Regions from separate parts of the Homo sapiens genome. Here all the other regions are linked to region 1. Evidence: promoter capture Hi-C in 16 types of primary human blood cells and fetal thymus (Javierre and others, 2016). All regions are on one chromosome and are shown on one strand. Each heading gives the region's core, a stretch centred on a gene start or on the middle of the fragment in contact. The rest is flanking DNA. Distances are from core to core; before and after follow the strand shown.

Evidence for each region. The method cuts DNA at HindIII sites, captures the fragments that hold promoters and counts their contacts. A CHiCAGO score of 5 or more calls a contact.
Region 2: a fragment that was not itself captured here is called in contact with the fragment with the promoter of DUSP7 in region 1 in 7 of 17 cell types (fetal thymus, naive B cells, naive CD4 T cells and 4 more); the score reaches 11.0 in fetal thymus.
Region 3: a contact is called between a fragment that was not itself captured here and the fragment with the promoter of DUSP7 in region 1, in 1 of 17 cell types (naive B cells). The highest score is 5.5, in naive B cells.
Region 4: a contact is called between a fragment that was not itself captured here and the fragment with the promoter of DUSP7 in region 1, in 2 of 17 cell types (neutrophils and total B cells). The highest score is 6.4, in neutrophils.

Annotation. Positions count from the first base shown.
Region 1 is chr3:52,053,317-52,058,558 of GRCh38, forward strand. DUSP7 (dual specificity phosphatase 7) reads right to left here and starts at 3,255. Exons shown (of 3, transcript NM_001947.4): 1 at 2,534-3,255; 2 at 624-1,058. The coding sequence starts at 3,050. RefSeq lists silencers at 1,766-1,835, 2,546-2,595, 2,916-2,975, 3,176-3,555, 3,956-4,315. The HindIII fragment of the contact is 7,722 bases long and covers 1-3,964 here.
Region 2 is chr3:52,339,163-52,344,172 of GRCh38, forward strand. The region is part of intron 8 of DNAH1 (dynein axonemal heavy chain 1); the gene reads left to right. Among named protein-coding and RNA genes, the nearest start is that of DNAH1, 25 kb to the left of the region's middle. RefSeq lists an enhancer at 4,391-4,892. The HindIII fragment of the contact is 5,475 bases long and covers 551-5,010 here.
Region 3 is chr3:52,373,667-52,379,137 of GRCh38, forward strand. DNAH1 (dynein axonemal heavy chain 1) reads left to right here. Exons shown (of 78, transcript NM_015512.5): 45 at 1,574-1,747; 46 at 2,289-2,327; 47 at 4,936-5,114. It also overlaps the pseudogene PPP2R5CP. Among named protein-coding and RNA genes, the nearest start is that of BAP1, 34 kb to the right of the region's middle. The HindIII fragment of the contact is 1,878 bases long and covers 2,185-4,062 here.
Region 4 is chr3:52,415,364-52,420,434 of GRCh38, forward strand. PHF7 (PHD finger protein 7) reads left to right here. Exons shown (of 11, transcript NM_016483.7): 5 at 4,470-4,571; 6 at 4,948-5,071. Among named protein-coding and RNA genes, the nearest start is that of PHF7, 7.2 kb to the left of the region's middle. The HindIII fragment of the contact is 1,167 bases long and covers 773-1,939 here.

The sequences.
Region 1 (5,242 bases), core at 2,005-4,504:
AGACAGCAGGACACACTGCTCTGGGGAAGGCCTTTCTCCACTCCCCCACCTTCTCTTGCACTCCTCCCTACACTCCAAGCAAGCCCTACAGGCTGCAGAGAGCATCTGGAGGCTGACTGAGCTAGCAGTCACCACATTTCAATAGCTGCCTGTTTGGGGTGTGCCTCTGGCTCCAGGGCTACCTTTCAGCCCTCTTAGGTCCACATTAAAGCCCAAAGAGGCACTATGACAACCCCATCCTGGAGAGACACGTGTGCTGAGGCGTGATGCGGAGCAAGTGAGACCCGTGGGAGGTCTGTGCGCTGTGATGTTTCAGCTTGCTAAGCCCGAAACAACATCTAAGCCAGGAAAACACAAGCTGGACAGCAGAGAGCCCATGACGTGCTGTCAGCTAGGGGGAGCTCAGGACTCAGGAGACTGCTCAGGCCCCAACAGGTAGAGGGGCCCAAGGGACTCGGTGACTCACAGTAGGCCTGGGTACACCCACGGGCACACGCTGGCACACGTAGGGCACACACAGGTCTCAACAGGCCCAGAGGTACCCAGTCAGGCGGGGGCGCCACCCAGAGTCCTGCATACACCTTGATGCACCCACACCCCCCTGCCCAGCACACAGCACCTACCAATGAAGCTGATGGCCTCAGGGAAGAACTGGGAGAGGTTCTGGCTCCAGTGGTCAGAGATGGGGATCTGCTTGTAGGTGAACTCGCCGCCGTGCTCGAAGGCGTTGGGTAGGTTGGGTGTGACATTGAGGATATACTTGATGCCATACTTGCCGAGCACGTCCAGGTTGGTGGAGTCCTTGGCGCAGCCGAGGTAGAGGTAGGGCAGGATCTGGACAGGGAAGGCTGGTTGGCTGGATGGCACAGGGCTGCCGTCTGACTCGGTGGCACTGCTGGGCAGCTCTCGGTCCGACTCGCCGTCGGAGCAGTCAGAGCTGATGCGCAGGCCCCCCAGGCCCAGCACTGAGGTGGGTGGCGAGCTGCTCGGCGAGGAAGAGCTGTCCACGTTGGTCTCGCAGTGCTCAGAGTACTCTGTTTGAAACTTGTTGAAACCACCTGTGTCCAGGGTGAGACAGGGCCTGGGTGAGAGGCTGGTGAGAGCCCAGATGGGCTGCACAAGACCAGAGATGGCCAGGACTCTGCACGCCAAACACCACAGCACCCACGGTCAGCATGGGCCATGCCAAGCATGTTACACGTGTGCCCTCTCTCGTGTTCTCTCCATCTAAACCATGACCACTTCACAGATAAGGAAACTGAGGCCCCAGAAGGTGAAGTGACGTGCCTGGACTCCAAACTGGTACCCATAACACTTCGGGGCCCCCAGCCATGGCACCAGCTTTAGGGCACTTGAGGACAGGCCCCAGCTAATTCCTCTTCTGCAGCTCCCACGCACACCTAGCACCCATGGGTGTTCAGTAACAGCTAAGTGGTAAAGAAAAGCAGACAACCCCATCTTAGCCAGCACCTCTGGGTTGGCAAACTCCTCTTATAGATGAGACCACAGGTGCCAGAGCCACATCTGGCTCAGTTAGAGGCAGAGAGGTCCTGGGCTTCCTGAACGGGAGTCTAGTGGTTGCCCAGCCCCGAAACTACAGCTGGGGAGGGTAGTGGGAAGGTACTGGCTGGCCCCTTCCCCCAGCAGGGGCAGGTTTTTGAAGGGGGTCCTGGCTCCACTTCTCTAGAACCCTCCCTTAGAACACAAGCCCCACCCCCAGCCTTGGACCTGCAGCGGGGGAGGGCCACTGGGGCGATACAGGGACAGGAGAAATGGGGAGCCCCTTGCAGCGAGGCATGGGCCCTGCGCCCGAGGGTGCCGCAGGCCTCCCCTCCCCTCCCGCCCGCCCCGCTGCCAGCAAGAGGCCATTTTGGAATGTTAATTGGAAACACCGGCCTCAGCCACTCGCCCCCCGGTGCTACCTCTCCCTTCTGCAAGCTCCGGGGCAGCAGGCTAGGGACCTGGGGGTCCCGAGAGACCCGGGCCAGGGCAATGGAGCCTGCCCATACCCTGCCCCAAGCGCCTCCTAGAGGCGGCAATTCTCCGGTGGAAGAAGCAATTCCCGGATCCAGGAGACCCCAACCCAAATGGTCTCCATGCGCTGGAGGTGAGGATGGTGCTATGAAAGGTGCCCTTCCTGATCCTGGCCTTCCAGAAACACGAATTCTAGGCTGGACTTGGGCGCCCTGCCGCTTTTAGGGTTCTGGGAGGCGGCGCCTTCCACCTCTGAGGGGCTCCACTGGAGCCCAGGCACTACTGTCGCCCCATCAACAGGAAAAAAAAGGAAACCCCAGGCAGGGGAAAGTTTGTTCCACCCACTCGAATCGTGCCGAGAAAGGGGGCGCAGAGGGAGCCCCGCGCCTGCCAAACCACACAGTGGGGACCCGGCTCCAGGAGGGCGGATGCGGGCCGGGGACGACGTGGCGCCCAGAGGGGCAGGCCGAGCGCGTGGAGAGGAAAGCGCCTCCAAGGGGGGCGTCAGGGAGTCGCGGGGGGGCCCCGATCCCGTAAGGCGTCTCGGTGCCGCCCTCACCTTGGAGGTAGTAGGCCTGGCAGCCGTCGTCGCGCAGCTTCTGTAGGAGCAGGCCGAGCACGGAGGCGGGAGCGCCGGGCTCGGGCTGCCACTCGGCCGTGGCCTCGTCGTAGAGCAGCACGGTGGCCGCCTTGCAGCGCGTGGCGAAGCGCTCCTTGTCGGCGTGGTTGGGGATGATGGAGCGGATGGGCAGGTTGCCCTTGCGCAGGCGGCGCAACATGAGGCCCGGGATGGCCAGGTTGATGGCCGTCTCGATGTGCGACGACTCGAAGAGCTCGTGCGGCCGGCAGTCGAGCAGCAGCAAGGACGCGCCGCCGCGCGCCTCCAGCTCCTCCTGCAGCCACTCGGCGCTCTTGCAGGGCATGGCCCCTGCCCCCGTCGCCGCGCCCGCCCCGGTGCCTGCGCCGGACCCCGACCCCGCACCGGGCTCGGACCCCGCCCGGGTGCCCCCAGCCGCCGCCGCCCCCGAAGTCGACATGTGCGCCCGCGCTGGGGGGCCGCGGAGCTGGTTTTTCATGGGGAGCGCGGGCGGCCCGGGGCCGGGGCCGGGCAGCCCTGCCCTGGGACGGCGCCCCGGCCGCGCGGGCCCCAGCCGCGTCTCCGGGCGCCCGCCTCCCGCCGAGCTGCGCGCCCGCCGCCCCGGCCTCCCGGCCTCCCGGCCTCCGTCCCGCCCGCCCGCCCGGCCCTCCGCGCGCACCGCGGCCTGACAGCCCCAATTAAACGGCGGCTCCGGCGGCCGCGCGCCGAGGCGTTCTCCGGGGGGCGGGGCCGCGGGGGCCGGCGCCCGGGCTTAAAGGCGCAGCGCCTCCACCGCCCCTCCCCACGGGGTATGCGGGCGCGCTCGCGACCCGAGCCCGGGAGACCAGCGGCGGGGCCCTCCCCCACCGCCTCCGCACCGTTGCCCCCTGGACTAGCTCGGAGCTGACTACGATCCGCCTAGGGACCCCGGCCTAGACGCCCTCATGGGTTCACTCTGCGCGTGCTCCCAAGCTCTTCTGGACACTGCGGGAAGAGAGGCCCTGGGGGCGTCCTATGCCTGGCACCCCCACCCCACATTCACAACAGCATAGTTTTCCTGGGACGGGGCGTGGTGGGGGGGATGGTCAAGCTGAGCAACCTCTCCTCCTCCCGCCTGTCATCCCATTCATTTTTTCTGTCATCGAGTTCATTCAACAAATGAGAACTGAACGCCTACTACGTGCCAGGCACTGTGCTAGGCGGTCACCGTTTCAGAGGACCTCATCGTTCCCCTGACGGTCACAGGCTCCAGACCTGAGGGAGAGCGTCTCACGCCAGCAGGCCTGATGGGAAATCAGGACCTGGGCAACTGGCGGGGTAGGAAGACTCAGGGCCGTGCCACCTTCCGTGGGCAGGTGTGGAGAAATCCTAGAAAGGACCAGCTTTGGGAAGGGATCGCGAGCCCTTTAAGAAAGCTTTACAAGCGGGGTGGTGACAGGCGCCCAGTGAAGCGCCACGTGACTTTTTCCACGGGGCCGGTGGGAGGGGAATGCTCCTTTATAATCAGCTTTCCTTCCCCTGCCTCCCTCTCAACGGACCAATCAACTTCCGCGGTAGGCGGGCGCCTGCCATGCAGATGGCCAATCCTGGCCGAAAGAGGCGGTGGCGGAGGGAGGCGGGGCCCGCCGCGGTTTCCACCCAGGGCGGGGAAGTGGGCGGGGCCTCCGCCCGCCCTGTGTGTCGATTTGCAGGCAGGCGGGGCAGCGGAGGTGAATGGACCCGCAGGTAGCGCTAGAACAAAGCGGCTAGACGCAGGCGGCGCGCTTGCGTAGGACCTGCAGTGCTTTCCCTACGGAGCCAGGGTGGCAGCTTGAGGCTGGACCCTGCCGTCTATCTGGTCCATTCTTTTGCCTGGCGGGGTGCCCCTCCTTGGGGCTTAACCCCCCGACTCCGCCCGAGGCTGGTCGGCTCTGAGACACCTTGCCCCCATCCCTGACTGGGGGAGCGGTGGTGCTTGAGGGACGGCCTCTGGAACCCCGAGGATTTGAGCTTTCCGCTAACCTCTGACCAGAAGGCACGAAAAGGGGTGACTCAGGAGCAGTCCCCGCCTGTCTTTCAAGCGAGGGATAGTCTTTCGGAAGAGTTTCATCCTGGGCCACAGGGCTGTATCCCAAAGGAGCAGGGGTCTCTCCCACAGTCACATTCTCAGAGTGTGAAAGGAGAAGCAACTCTCCGCCCAAGGTTGTCCTGGGGGTCCTGGGCCTGTGGAAAGAGCTTCCAGGGCCCAAGATGCCAAGACCCAGATTCTGTCCTGCCACTTGCAGGTGTGTCCTGTGACCTTAGTATGGTTCTTCCCTCTGGGCCTTGGGTCTCCCAGTGTAGGAGAGTGCTAGTGTGGACTGAGCCCAATCCGTCTATGAATCCATCCGGCTGGGAGGACGTGGTCTGAGGACAGGCCTCTCGGCTGGCAGGCTGGATGCTGCTTGTCAGGGATGGAGGCAGCACTCAAAAAAGAGGCCTGAGCAAACTCCCAGGGGAGGGTGAGCTGCTGAGCAGTGCACCATTCACTCAGCAAGCCTTGCTGAGGGCCTCCTGAGTACCAGCCTGCCTGGAGCCGGAGTGACAACAGTGGAGCCTCCATCCTCCACTCAGGCCTGGCTACCTCTCCCCTCTGCTCCACCATGGGGTTGGATGCCGGTCTGGGTGCTCTCCCAGGCCTACCACAGGATGAACACAGACCCCTCTTTCTCT
Region 2 (5,010 bases), core at 2,038-4,537, 290 kb after region 1:
GCTGCTTTGCGTATCTTTTAATTCAACCAGTTTCCGACCCTTTTTAGTTTTTTCTAATTTTATTTTTTAAAATTTTATTTTCTTTCTTTTACTTCCTTTATTTTCTCTCATTTTTATTCTCTTGGTTATATCCTGCCTTTCTTCAATTTACTTCATTATGCTTTGATTTGACTCTGTTTTCTCTCGGTCACCTTGTAATTTCAGCTTCCTCCCCGTGATACTTTTATTTTCCATTTTTTCCTTGAGCTTAATTAAGTCTCTTTTCTTACCGACATTTGTCCATTTATATGTTTTATTTTTGAATTTCTGATTCAAGGTGGTTTTTCAGATGCCCAAACACTCGTTTAAGGCTATTTAGCTGAAGTATTGTGTTACAGTTTTCTTCTGCTTGGTACTTGTTTATTTTTTTAGGGGTGATGGGAATTTTATCAGTTAAGATGCTCTTGTCTTCTCAAATGTGCAAACAAAGCTAAAAGATGCTCTCTTTTTCTTATAGAAGCAAATGTAGACGGTGTTCACCTATTCATTTCAGGATTTGGAGTGATTTGCAAGCTTTCTAGTTCAAGGGCGCCCTCTTCTGTCAGTATTGCACATTAGTTTTTTTTGTTTGTTTGTTTTTAGAATGTGCTCTGTGTGTGTGTCTGTGTGTGTGTGTGTGTGTGTGTGTGTACACACGTGCTGGGGAGAGGGATGTGGGTCCTCCAAGGTTTTTGTCCTCTTATCTTGCAGAACTCAACATTTCACTTTTGCTTCTTTTCCCTTATCCTCCAGTCTACAAATGACCCCTTTCCTTCTGCCTCCTGTCCCATAAGTCATATGCCTTTCAAAGAACACTGCCTTTGAATTGCATGCCCTTAAGTCCCTTCCTTGTAGTAAGTGCTCTGATTTACCAGGGCTTTTTTTCAGTATTTTTACAGTTAGGGTTACTTTCTCTTTTTTTGAGATACGGTCTCACTTTCACCCAGGCTGGAGTGCCGTGGCATAATCACAGCTAACTGCAGCCTCAAACTCTTGGGCTCAAGTAATCCTCCTGCCTCAGCCTCCCTGGTAGCTGGGACTACAGGCATGTGCCACCACACCCGCTATTTTTTTATTTTTTGTAGAGATGGGGGTCTCACTTTGTTGCCCAGGCTGGTCTCGAATTCCTGGGCTCAATTCATCCACCCACATTGGCCTCCCAAAGTTCTGGGATTATAGGCATTAGCCACTGCGCCCAGCCTGGGTTACTTTCTCTTTCTGGTAGGATTTTATTTATTTATTTATTTATTTATTTATTTATATTTATTTTTTGAGATGAAGTCTTGCTCTGTCACTCAGTCTGGAGAGCAGTGGTGTGATCTCAGCTTACTGCAACCTCTGCCCTCTGTGTTGAAATGATTCTCCTGCCTCAGCCTCCCGAGTAGCTGGGACTACAGGTGGTTACCACCACGCCTAGCTAATTTTTGTATTTTTAGTAGAGACGGGGCTTCACCATGTTGGCCAGGCTGGTCTTGAACTCCTGACCTCAGGTGATCCACCCACCTCGGCCTCCCAAAGTGCTGGGATTACAGGCATGAGCCACTGTGCCCGGCCTCTGGTAGGATTTTAGATCTATCTTAGGGTTACCACTATTTCCCTTTTCTGCAGTTTTTCTTAGACTGCCCTTGTTCTCTGTGAAAACTTGCAGCAAGAGTGTGAGAGACAGCTCACTGGAGATAGATTTTTTTTTTTTAATTTACAGATAATTTGAAGTCTAGGCATTCTGCTGATTCTAGTTGTGCTAAAGGTGTGGGTTTTGGTAGTGTTAGTTTTTTCTTCCTTCCTTCCTTCCTCCCTCCCTTCCTTCCTTCCTTCCTTCCTTCCTAGGATGTGTTGGGAAATTTGAATCGATATAGCCACCTTACCTTGGCTGTCCAGAAGTCTGTTTCTTGAATTTTATTCAATTTATAATGTTTTTGGCTTTAAGTATCAAAGATGCTGGTCTCAGATTGTCTTAGACAGCAGGGAAGTGCATTCCTGTACCTGTAGCAGGAAAACCAATGCAGGACGCCCCAGGGTTGGTGCATCAGGGCCCTGTCTGCAGTGTATGCTGGCTTCATCTTCAGGCGAGATGGCAGCAGCAGTTTCATGACCACAACAAAGGTTGTCTTAGATTGGGTTCCGTAGAAGCAGACCCTGATGTGGGGACTCTTGTGCAAGCGATTTATGAAATCCTCTCAGGAGAAATCTATAAGGAAGTGAAGGAAGCAGGGTATAATAGAAGAAGCAGCTGGTAAAATATGGTTTTAGAAGTCTAGTCTCAGCCTGATCCTGTGGGAAACTCTAGAGCAAGCATGGCACCACCGTATTTGTCCTGGAGGGAGCCAGAACAAGAGGGCTTGACTTTGACTTTTTTTTTTTTTTTTTTTTTTTTGAGACAGGGTCTTGCTCTGTCCCCCAGGCTAGAGTGCAGTGGAGCAATCTTAGCTCACTGCAAAGGGCTTGACTTTTATATATCTGCATCAGTGGTTGATCATAACTGGGACGTGTTCCCACACCTAAACCAACTGCAGTTGGGGCAAGCTCCACCACGACTGGCTTGGACTAGCTGAGATGTACCCCTGTAGCTGGGGCTGTAGTCATCTTCCCCTGAGTCAAGTGAGGAAGGATGGAATTCTGGAACAAAACTGAGGAAGAAGGGAGGGAGTGGATGTCAGGCCAGCAAGCAGCCATGTGTGGAAGTACCCATCTTGTGCCAGACACTGGGTACAGAGGAGTGAACATTTCCAACAAAGAGCCTGCACCCTGGGGACTCTCAGCCTGGCCAGAAAGACAGACAATGAAAAATCTGGGTTTTTAGGGTTCTGATAAGTGCTGTGAAGACCAAGCGAGAGAAGGGAATAGAGATGTCTCAGAAGGGCTTCTTTATATTAGGCGGTCAGGGAAAGCCTTTCTCACAGTGGTGATAACATTTGAGTTGAGGTCTAAAGTAAGGGAAGAAGAGGATTCTGGCAGAAGGAGCAGCAGTGCAGAGGCTGAGGTAGGGACAAGTTTGTGGTACTTGAGGAGCAGGGCAGGGTTACTGTGGTTGGGATGCAGAGAGAGATGTTGGTCTGGGAGGCTGGACCACATGCAGGGGCAGAGACGCGGCCACAGGCCGACAGTCTGTGCAGGCCATGGGTGGTGGTGAGCAGAGGAGTGGCTTGATCGTTTACATGTTTAAAATATATTTTTTCCAACTCAAGTAGAGAATGAGTTGTAAGGGGGCAAGAGTGGAAGCAGGGAGATCAATGAGGAGACTAATGCCATAATCAGGGCCAGAGATCATGATGGTGGCTTGAACCAGAATAGTAGCTGAGCAGCACGGGAGAAAGAGATATATTTGAGGTTTCCTCAGCGGTGGAGCCAATGAGAGCTGCTAATGGACTAAATGCAAGCTCACCCCAGGTCTGGGGATTTCCAATCTCAAAGCCCAGTTTCAGGATCAGGTGCAGGGGTCACCCACCCTCAGGCCCAGTCATGGTGTTGCACATCCAGTAGCAGGAAGAGACCAGGGACCCCTCCGTAGGGCTTTGGTCAGTAGGGTGTGTGCAATGCTGTTCAGAGACAAGGAGGCTAGTGGGGATAGGGGGCAAGCGAGGAACAGGGGATGGAGAGAAATGAAGAGCTTGCCTTCTGACATGCTGGTTCTGACACGTTGTAAGGCATCCAGTGTCAGTGTTGAGTGGGCTGGTGGATAAATGAAGGGAGAGAACTGCAGATAGGTGTGAGGGTTCTGGCTGAATAGAACAGGTGGTGTTCAGAGTCCGAGGCTGGAGGAGCTCACCTGGTGGGAGGTATAGCTGGGGAAGACGAGGGGTCTCAGGACCCCTGGCACAGGCCAACGTTTAGAAGTCAGGGAGGTGAGGAAGATCCAGGGGAAGGGTGTCCCAGAAGCTCCGTGAGGACAGCGGTGCAGCAGAATAGGAGGGAGCCACTGTGCCAAGTCTCTGAGAGTCCAGTGAGATGAGGCAGAGCCTGGAGTGGCCTCAGGGGTAGCGAGGGAAGAGATGAGGATGGGAAGAAGTGAGCACACCAGTTTTTCATAAAGAAACACAAAGAGATAAAGTCAAAGGAGGGAAGGAAGTCAAGGGGCGGCTTCTAATGTGGGACATACCAGAGTGTGTGGGGACCCCTGGGAGGGCGTGGGAGGGAAGGCAAAGAGACTGAGGTGGCTGAGCTTGCTGGGCTTTTCCTGAGAGCAGGGCATGCCTTCTACCCTGGCAGAAGGCAGGGAGATTCCGGGGTGTGAAGATGGGGTCATTTCTGTCCAATGGCTTCTGAGTTCCGGATGAAATTCGAGGGACTTCACCCAGTGAGGGAGGGTGTGTCTGTGAGTTGGCAGAGAAGGTGAGAGAGAGTCTTTTCCAGGTTCCGAGGGAGTGAGTAGATTTCTAGGCCAGGTTGAGGGTGTGTTGAAGGTGAGACCAGTCCCCTGCCTACGAAGTTCTCCAACATCCCGCAGCTCTGGTGCAAGTGTGGGCTGCAGGAAACTGAGATTCCCTTGTGGTGCCATTACCAGGGCTAAAGGGACTATTCAGATGTGGCAGAGGTGGGAGGGAGGGAGAGATCGATGGCAGAGACCAACTCAAGGAACAGAAAGGCCTGTCCGCAAAGGACAGAGATGCCAGCTGGCTCAGATGAGGCCTGAGCAAGCCAGGTGCCGGAACACAGCGGCATAGGCAACGTGTGCTGAGGAGTGAGTGAGCGAGTGAGTGAGTGAGTGAAATGGCCTCCAAGGGGTCTGCCTATGTGAGGACGGGGGAGATGGTGTGCACGCTCACCCCAGGTCTGCTGATTTCCGATCTCGGAGCCCAGTTTCAAAGTGAAGTGCAGGGGTCACCCACCCTCAGGCCCAGTCATGGGCACATCCTGAGTTCTCAGCACCTTCCAGGCGCTGCCATGATTGCCCAGTGAAAGCAAAGGAGCTCAGTGGCAGGCATCTTCCACTGCACCATGGGGCAGCAGGCGGGGGTGCTGCAGGGGAGGTGCAGGCTGTGAGTGGCAGCTCTC
Region 3 (5,471 bases), core at 1,874-4,373, 320 kb after region 1:
TGATCAAAAGAAGTTTTTTATCCAGAAGTTATGTCAGTGTTGCGTCCTTTTTGACTTTGTTTCTGATCCACTAAGTGAACTAAAGTAGAAGGAATTAAAACGAGCTGCTTTAAGTGAAATGGTAGAATATATCACCCATAATTGGAATGTGATCACAGAGCCTGTTTACCCAGAAGTAGTCCATATGTTTGCAGTTAACATGTTTCGAATATTACCACCTTCCTCCAATCCTACGGGAGCAGAATTTGACTCAGAGGAAGATGAACCAACGTTAGAAGCAGGCTGGCTTCATCTACACTTATTTATGAATTTTTCTTAAGATTTTTAGAGTCTGCAGATTTCCAATCTAATATAGCGAAGAAATATATTGATCAGAAGTTTGTATTGCAGCTTTTAAAGCTCTTTGACAGTGAAGATCCTCAGGAGAGAGATTTTCTTAAAACCACCCTTCACAGAATCTATGGGAAATTCCTAGGCTTGAGAGCTTACATCAGAAAACAGATAAATAATATATTTTATAGGTTTATTTATGAAACAGAGCATCATAATGGCATAGCAGAGTTACTGGAAATATTGGGAAGTATAATTAATGGATTTGCCTTACCACTAAAAGAAGAACACAAGATTTTCTTATTGAAGGTGTTACTACCTTTGCACAAAGTGAAATCTCTTGAGTGTCTACCACCCCCAGCTGGCATACTGTGGAGTGCAGTTTTTAGAAAAGGACAGCACCCCCACAGAACCAGTGGTGATGACACTTCTCAAATGCTGGCCAAAGACTCACAGTCCAAAAGAAGTAATGTTCTTAAACAAATTAGAAGCGATTTTAGATGTCATTGAACCATCAGAATTTGTGAAGACCATGGAGCCCCTCTTCCGGCAGTTGGCCAAATGTGTCTCCAGCCCACACTTCCAGGTGGCAGAGCGAGCTCTCTATTACTGGAATAATGAATACATCATGAGTTTAATCAGTGACAATGCAGCGAAGATTCTGCCCATCATGTTTCCTTCCTTGTACCACAACTCAAAGACCCATTGGAACAAGATAATACATGGCTTGATATACAACGCCCTGAATCTGTTCATAGAGATGGAACAAAAGCTGTTTGATGACTGTACACAACAGTCCAAAGCAGAGAAACTAAAAGAGAAGCTAAAAATGGAAGTACGAGAAGAAGCATGGGTTAAAATAGAAAATCTAGCCAAAGCCAATCCCCAGGTACTAAAAACGAGAGTGACATGAAAACGTCCAGGGTTACTTGAAATGTTTTTATAAGATAGGACTATGTCTTCACCATGGGGGCGGGGGGTGGGGCTCGATTTCACTAACGTTGTATATGAAAATGTCTGCAATAAAAAGTACTTTTGAACTTTGTAAAAAAAAAAAAAGTTAAAGGAGAGGAGCATGAATTTTTAGGGCAAAGAAAAATTTTCCTGTGTAATATTGATGTATTTGTCTTTATTCCAGTACTGTTCTAAAGTATAATTTTGAATTTTTGTATGGAGAAGGGGCCACAAAGGTCATAATGCAGCCCTGGCCAGGGCCCTTCCTGACTTCCTGCCCCTACTCCAGGTGCCTTCAAGAACCTAGTGGACATCAACTTTGTCTGTGCCATGGGCCCCCCGGGTGGAGGCAGGAACACCGTCACCCCGCGGCTGATGCGTCACTTCAACTACCTGTCTTTCGCTGAGATGGACGAGGTCAGCAAGAAACGCATCTTCTCCACCATCCTGGGCAACTGGTTGGGTGAGTATTGGTGGGGGTGAGCATGGACAAAGGCAGAAGCCCAGGCCAGGGAGGCCACACCAAGGACAACTGGGTGGCCACCAGAAAGGGTGGAGTGGCCAAACCATGACCGCAACCCTGGGTTCACCTCTCACTCAGCTGTGTGATCTTTGGCAGCTCATGAATCTCTCTGAGCCTGTTTCTTCATCTGTACCTACCATTCCAGGTCGTGAGGGTTAAGTATGATATTGCATGTAGAGCACCTAGCATGAAGCCTGGCACGTGGTGATTGCTGGATGTATGATGCACACAGATATGCACTCACTCACATACATACATACGTATACGTTAGTACTTGCCCAGAAACTCTGGGGAAGGCATGTTACTTTTGTAAATCAGGAAAAGCCACAAGATAGGATGGACGGAGTGTCTCTGAGCCTTTATGGGGTTTGGGGAAAAGCTTACCCCAAGATGCTGTTTCCCCCACCATCTCACCTGGCCAGGGTGAGCAGCAAGAGGTCCACCTAACCCTGAGCCCCGTGTTTCTCCCTCCATCCTCTAGATGGACTCCTTGGAGAAAAAAGCTACCGGGAGCGTGTGCGTAAGTGTGGGCCTGGGCGGGAATGGGGCACTGGTTCCAGGAGGAGCCCTGGGCTCTGGTTGGGTGTGTTGAGGCTGCGACCAGGCGCCGTGGTGAACCATCCTCAGGTTCATGCAGGGACCTTGGGCCACTAGGGTGCCAGAGCGAAGGTTGACACAGGCACTGGCTGCCCCATAGGCTCATTCACCCATTCTTAGAGCCCTTCCATGCCTGCGTTAGTGTCCAGCTGATGATAGATGCAAATTAAATGCAAAATGAATGCATAAATAAGGGAATCCAACAAACTCCCACCCTGTGTGAAGAATCAGAACTCCAGGGAGCAGGTGTGCACAGGAAAGCCGGGAGTGGTTTGTGCGGGGCAGGCATCGTGGTGAATCTGCCCGTCGTCGCGGCAAGGCGGCTGACCACTGCAGTCCCTGTCCTTGCCCAGGCCTGCCTCCTCACCCTGCCTTCAGCTGAAAGAGGCTGTCGAGAAACAGCTCCCTTTTGGGTCTGCACCCACCTGCTTACCTGCGCCCTGCCTTCCCTCCTGTGGCTGGGAACGGACTGCTGCTCCACAGCAAAGCCCAGCCTCCTCCTGGGCCTGCCTGGGAATGTGGCACCCCTCTTCCCCGCCAACACCAGTGCTCCCTTCGCCACTGGGCCTTCCACAAACAAGCCCCATTCTCCATCTCAACCACCAAATGCAAAACAGCCTCTCTGGGCCCCCTTCCCACCTGCCCCAGCCCGTCACTCTACCTCTCTGCTCACCTTGATAGCAAAACTCCTCCAAAGCATTGTCTTTCCCGCTGCACCCGCCCTCCCCTCCCACTTTCCTGTGAATGCACCTCTCACCCTCTGAGAGTTCTTGTCACCAGTTGCCTTCTGTGGCCAGACCAGCGGTCAGCCCTTGTTCTCGCCTTCCCAGGGGTCAGTAGTGCTGGCCGGCAGACATCCCCTTCCTGCCACGGGCTTCTCTCAGGCCTCCCCCATCCCTGGCTGCCCATTCTCGGCTGGACTGGGGCTTGGTCTCCAGCCTCCTCTCCCTCCAACCACACTCTCCTGAGACAGTCCCATCCCGCCTCTGACGGGGAAAACCATCTTTGTGCTGGCAACTCCCAAGTCTACCTCCTCAGCCCAGACCTCTCCCATGAATGCCTGATTCCACATCTTCCCTGGGATGTCCACAGGGTATCTCAGGCCAAACCTGTCCAGAGCCAAACTCCCGAGTACCCCGGTCCCCGCACTCTTCCCATCTCAGGCAATGGCAGCTCCATCCTTCCAGGTGCTCCCAGCAAGACGGGGTCTTGGCGCCATCCTCCATCCCCCCTTCCCTCACCCCACAGCTCACCTGTCAGGAGGTCCCATAGGTTCTCCCTTGAGAACCCATCCCAATCGGCCACTGTTCACCACCCTGTCCTTGCCCACCCAGCCAGTGCTGTAGCCCCGCCATGGTCTCCTGGCAGCTGCCTTCACCTGCCTAAGGTCTATCTTCCGCTTGGGGCCACAGGGACCCATGAAATCATTCCATCAGTCCACACTCCTCCTCTCTCACCCATCGCATCCAGGCAAGAGCCCGGGTCTTGACAATGGTAGGCAAAGCCATCCTCAGTTCGCCCTGCCTCATCCTCTGATCTCACCGCCTCCTGCTCATCCCCTCATTGCTGGTCCTTAAGATGCCAGGCCTGCTCCCACCTCCAGGCCTTTGCCCTTGCTGTCCCCTCTGCCTGGGACAATTTTTCTCCAGTTATGTGAAAGCTTGCATCTCACTTCTCTGCTTGACCCCCCTTCCTCAGTGAGGCCTCCCCCAGCATTCCGTAAAATCGCCCCCAAGCCCAACTCTGGCCCTCCCCGGACCCCTCTCCTGCTGCAGGGCTGCCCGTAGCCCTTGCCACCTATTTGCTGTCTTTGTTACTTGCTAATCCACTCATTGTCGTCCTTACCAACAAGAGTGTCAGCTTGAGGGCAAGGAGTGTGTCTGTTTGGGTCACTCTGTGCCCAGTGCCTGTGTCAACAGACAGGCCCCTCTCCTGCCCTTTCTTTCCATTTTCTCCACTTCTCCGCCAAGTTTCCACTGACAGAATTTGGGTTCCCAGCACAGAATTGGATAGTTTTCAAAGAACAGGCCGATAGGTGTATGAGTGGTAAAAATGCAGGCTGAGGGGTAGGCAGCCCCGAAGTGGGTGGTAAGCCCTCAAGGTCGGGGGTGTGCTCCAAGCCTCCCCACGCCCACTCCGGCATCTTGAGGCCTACGTGGATCATGAGACCCTCCCCAAGTGTGGCTCAGAGGTGGAATGTTCAGGTTTGGGCACAGCCTCCATAGGACAAGGCAGTAATGGCCCCGCCCAGCACTGACCCCACGAGCGCCCCCAGTTCCATGATGAGTCCCAGTGCTCCGACAGGCCATGTCAGCATAAAGATATAAGGGGTGCAGAGCAGGAGATTCTTCACCTCCCCCAAGCTGGGGGCATCCGAGATGGGGCCAAAGGGTACGTGGAATCCAAGCCTGAAGGCTGGGGAAGGGGCTTGGTGGGGGGCACAGCACAGCAAAGGCAAGGAGGTCAGGACCTGCAGAGGCGGCAGAGGGAGCTCCTGGCATGTGACCCAGGCCATTCTCCTATTCCCCCAGCTGGGGCCCCCCACATTGCCCACTTCACGGAGCCCCTTGTGGAAGCCACCATCATGGTGTATGCAACCATCACCTCCCAGCTGCTGCCCACTCCAGCCAAGTCCCACTACACCTTCAACCTGAGGGACCTCTCCAAGGTCTTCCAAGGCATGCTCATGGCTGACCCGGCCAAGGTCGAGGTGAGGACCAGGCAGGCACCCTCCCCAGTGCCCACACTGCTCTCCGCATCCTCCCCAGCCCCACCAATTTCAGGCCTTCCTGCCCAAACAGGCCCTGAGTGGGGCTTCCTGGAACATGGAGGTGCCAGGCCCTCCAGAGCCCAGCCTTGGTGCAGCTGAGCCCAGTCTTGTTAGTTGAACCCACACCTGGAATGGTGGCTGAGACGGGGATCACATGAGAGAGCCAGGGCAAGACGAGGGAGAAAGAGGGCTTCTGGTTTGGGCCCTGCATGTGAGAACGCTTGAGGGACAGTGAGCAGGGTGCCCTCTGGGAACCAAAAACCCCAGGTGGAAGGAGGGGGAAGTGTAGCAGGGAGC
Region 4 (5,071 bases), core at 106-2,605, 360 kb after region 1:
TTTTGTATTTTTAGTAGAGACAGGTTTCACCGTGTTAGCCAGGCTGGTCTTGAACAAAATTCACTAATTTTAAGGGTCCAGTTTGATAAGTTTTGATAAATGTATGTCCCCAAATAACCACCACCCCAATCAAAATAGGTAATATTTTCATCACCCCAGAAAGTTCCCTCCTGCCTCCTTTTCCAGTCAATCCCACTAGACGTAATCACTGTTCTGATCTATGGATTATTTTTGGCTATTCTTTTACTTCATATAAGTGAAATCATATAGTTTATAATCTTCTGTATCTGGCTTTTTTCTCCCAACACAGTGTTTTGGAGATTCATCCATGTTGTTGCATGCATTCATAGCTTGTGCCTTTTTATTACTTGGTAGTATTCGGTTGCATGAATAAGTTACTATTTGCTTATCTGTTCACCTGTTGATGAACATCTGAATTGTTTCCATTTGAGGACTATTATGAATAAAGCTACTTTAAGCATTCATGTACAAGTCTCTTTGTGAACATGTGCTTTCACTTCTCTTGTGCAGATGCCTAGAAGTGGAATTACTAGTTGTATGCTAATTAGATATTTAACTTTATGTGAGGTTGCCACATCACTGTCCAAAGCGGTTGTACCAGCTTACACTCCTACCAGCAATTTATAAGAAGTCCAGTTGCACAGTATTCTTGCCGGAACTTTGTTTTGTCAGTGTTCTTAATTTTAGCCATTCTACTGGGTGTGTATTGGTATTTCATTGTCGTTTTAATTTCCATTTTTCTGATGACTAAAGCTTCTTTTCATGTGCATATTGGCCATTCACATATTTTCTTTGGTTTTTTGGTTTTTTTTTTTTTTTGAGATGGAGTCTCGCTCTGTCGCCCAGGCTGGAGTGCAGTGGTATGATCTTGGCTCACTGCAGCCTCCACCTCCCGGGTTGGAGCAATTCTCCTGCATCAGCCTCCCAAGTAGCTGGGACTACAGGTGCCTGTCACCACGCATGGCTAATTTTTATATTTTTAGTAGAGACAGGGTTTCACCGTGTTAGCCAGGATGGTCTCGATCTCTTGACCTCGTGATCTGCCCACCTCGGCCTCCCAAAGTGCTGGGATTACAGGCGTGAGCCACCGCGCCTGGCCCGGCCCACATATTTTCGTTTGTTAAGTATCTGTACAAATATTTTTACCCATTTAAAAACACTGAGTGGTGGTCGGGCACAGTGGCTCACGCCTGTAATCCCAGAACTTTGGGAGGCCGAGGCGAGCAGATCAAGAGGTCAGGAGATGGAGACCATCCTGGCTAACACGGTGAAACCCTGTGTCTACTAAAAATAAAAAAATTAGCCGGGCATGGTGGCAGGCGCCTGTAGTCCCAGCTACTCGGGAGGCTGAGGCAGGAGAATGGCGTGAACCCAGGAAGTGGAGCTTGCAGTGAGCCGAGATCACGCCACTGCACTCCAGCCTGGGCGACAGTGCAAGACTCCGTCTCAAAAAAAAAAAAAAAAAATTGAGTGGTTTTATTATTGAGTTGTAGGAATTGCTTATATATTTCAGATACAAATTCTTTTTCAAATATATGTATTGAGACTATTTTCTTCCTAGTCTTTGGCTTGCCTTTTCATTTTCTTAATGGTGTCTTTCAAAGAACAAGTTTGTAATTGTAATGGAGCCCAGTTTATCCATTTTTTTCTTTTATGGTCAGTGCTTTTTGTGTGTTGCAAGAAATCTTTACCTACCCATAGAATTGCCTTGGTGCCTTTGTCAAAATCAATTGACCATATATCTGTGGATCTGGATAATCTATTTATGTCATTGATCTATGTATCTATTCTTACACAAGTCCCCACTGTCTTGATTATTGTGGCTTTATAGTATATTGAAATTCAGTATTGTTAAGTTCTACAATCTTTTCCAAGATTGTTTTGACTATCAGGTCCTTTCTTTATAAAGTTTATATTAAGCTTGTCAATTTTTCTTTAAAAAAAAAGTCTACTGGGATTGTGATTGGGATTGCATTGAATTTATAGGTCAATTTGGGAAGAATTGACAAAAAATATTGAACCTTCCAATCCATGGACATGGTATATTTTTCCACTTATTTGGGTCTTTTAAAATATATCTCAGCAATGTTTTGTTGTTTTGGTGACAAAGTCTTGTACATCTTTTGTTAAATGTATTCCTAAATATTCTGTGGTTATGCTATTGTAAATAGTATTTTTATTTCATTTTTAAGTTTATTGCTGGTATATAGAAATGCATTTTATTTTTGTATATTGATTTGTATCCTGTAATCTTGTTAAATTGAGTTTGATTAGTTGTTTTTTTATTTTGTTGTAAATGCCTTGTTACAGGATTCCCTATGCACATAACCATGTCATGTGTGAATAAAGACAGTTCTACTTCTTTCTCTCAATCTTTGCCTTTTATTTCTTCTTGCCTTGTTGTATTGGCTAGGACCTTTAACCTAACATTGAATAGAAGTGGTGTGAGTTGTTATCCTTGTCTTGTTCCCAACATCAGGGGACAGCATCTAGTTTTTCACTATTAAAGTATGTTAGCTCTAGGTTTTTTTCATAGATGTTTTTATCAGGTTGAAGATCCCTTTTATTCATATATAGTTTGCCCAGAGTATCATGAATGGGTGTTGAATTTTCTCACTTTTCCTGTATTTATTGAGATTATCTTGATTTTTCTCTTTAATTTTGTTAATGTAGTTTGTTACATCAACTAAATGCTCTAATGTTAAACTAGTCTTGCATTCTTGGTATAAACTCTACTTGGTCATGATGTATTGTCCTTTTTATATGGTGCTGGATTCAGTTTGCATCTGTTTTGATTTTTATATCTGTGCTCATGAGAAAGATTGGTCTGTGATTTTCCTTTCTTGTAAGTCCTATCAGGTGTCAGGGCTTAGTTATAATTTTGATGTATTTACAAGCATATACATTTTTTACATAAAAATTAAACATTATACAGAGTGCTTTGTATCTTGGCTTTTTTCCATCATATATATTTTGGAAATCTTTCTGTATAGAACATATAGATATAGTTTTTTCTTTTTAGTAGCTAATTTATTAAATCAATACATGCTTATTGCAGAAAACATGAATGATACTTAAAAATATGAAGAAAACAAATCACTCATCCCAAAGCCCTGAGATAATTAGTTTTAAAATATGTGTTTCAAAAGTTCAATTCCTTCCCCCATAATACAGAACAACAACAATCAAGAGATATTAAAACCCTGTTTTTCTTCCTGTATTACTCTGAGAAGAGTATTTTCTCTGTACTAAGAGGTGATGCAGCAGGAAGGGTAAGAATGGGGATTCCATGGGCCTGGGTGTGAATAGCCAGCTCTGCTCCTCCTTGTCCTATAACCCTGGGAGGCAGTGTCACTTGCCACACTGCACCTCAGCGGCCTCCTCTGTAAGATGAGCATCATAATAGCATCTGCCATTACAGGAATTTTTTTTTTTTTTTTTGAGACGGAGTCTTGCTCTGTCGCCCAGGCTAGAGTGCAGTGGCCTGATCTTGGCTCACTTCAACCTCCGCCTCCCGGGTTCAAGCGATTCTCCTGCCTCAGCCTCCCGAGTAGCTGGGATTACAGGCGCGCACCACCATGCCCTAGTTTTTGTATTTTTAGTAGAGACAGGGTTTCACCATGTTGGCCAGGCTGGTCTCGAACTCCTGACCTCAGATGGTCAGCCCTCCTCGGCTTCCCAAAGTGCTAGGATTACAGGTGTGAGCCACCGTGCCTGGCCAAGGATTGTAAGCATAAAATGAGTAAATACAAAGGAAATGTTTCCCCCAAAGTCCCAGCACACAATAGCAGCCCTCAGTAAGTGAGAGGCAGCCTAGAGCAAAAGTAAGAGTCCAGGTTCCAGAGTTCTGTGGCCTTGAGCAGGTCGCATCATCTCTCCTATAAAATGAGGACAATAATAGTACCTACCTCCTAGGGCTGTTGGGAGGACTCAATGAGTTAATATTTGAAACCACTTAGAGTATTCAACACATGGTTGGTGCCATGTAAGCCTTCATTAAATAAATTACCCTGTCAATGCATATATATTCCACCAAGCTCTGTTCTTTTTTTTTTTCTTTTTTGAGACAGAGTCTTGTTCTGTGGCCCAGGCTGGAGTGCAGTGGCACGATCTCGGCTCACTGCAAGCTCCACCCTCTCGGGTTCACGCCATTCTCCTGCCTCAGCCTCCTGAGTAGCTGGGACTACAGGTGCGTGCCACCACACCCGGCTAATTTTTTTGTATTTTTAGTAGAGATGGGGTTTCACCGTGTTAGCCAGGATGGTCTCCATCTCCTGACCTCGTGATCCGCCCGCCTCGGCCTCCCAAAGTGCCGGGATTACAGGCATGAGCCACCACACCCGGCCCAAGCTCTATTCTTTAGCTCTCTTACCCTGTCCTTCTCCTCACCTCACTGCACTGTTTCACTGATCATCATTGTTAACAGCCTGGTTCTACTGCCCCCGCAGATCTTATCTAGTAAGCTGCCTCAGAGGGGCCAGTCCAACAGAGGCTTCCATGGATTTCTGCCTGAAGACATCAAAAAGGAGGCAGCCCGGGCTTCTAGGAAGGTTAGAATCTCTTGAAATGAGGACCTTGGGGTAGGCCTCTTTTCATACCTCACCCATCATTCCTGTTTCTGTTCTCTTCCCTACTTCCTAGTTTAGATGTCAAAGGACTCTTGGATTTTCCAACTAGTCCTTAAGTCCCATATTCCTCTGGGGTATGGGTGTCCTAAGTGAGAAGAGGGAGAAACATCTTGAGAAAATAGGAAAGAACTCAGTGCTGCTTGAAGCTCAGCTTCCGGGTGCCCCAGAGCATTCAGGACCACTGAAGATAGGGAATGGCTATTATTTCACAAAACTTCCATTTAATAGAAAGATGTGCTACACTGTGTGTGTTTGCATTTCTTGGGGTCCTGAGCACTGTCTGGGAACTCATTTGCAGATCTGCTTTGTGTGCAAGAAAAAGGGAGCTGCTATCAACTGCCAGAAGGATCAGTGCCTCAGAAACTTCCATCTGCCTTGTGGCCAAGAAAGGGGTTGCCTTTCACAATTTTTTGGAGAGTACA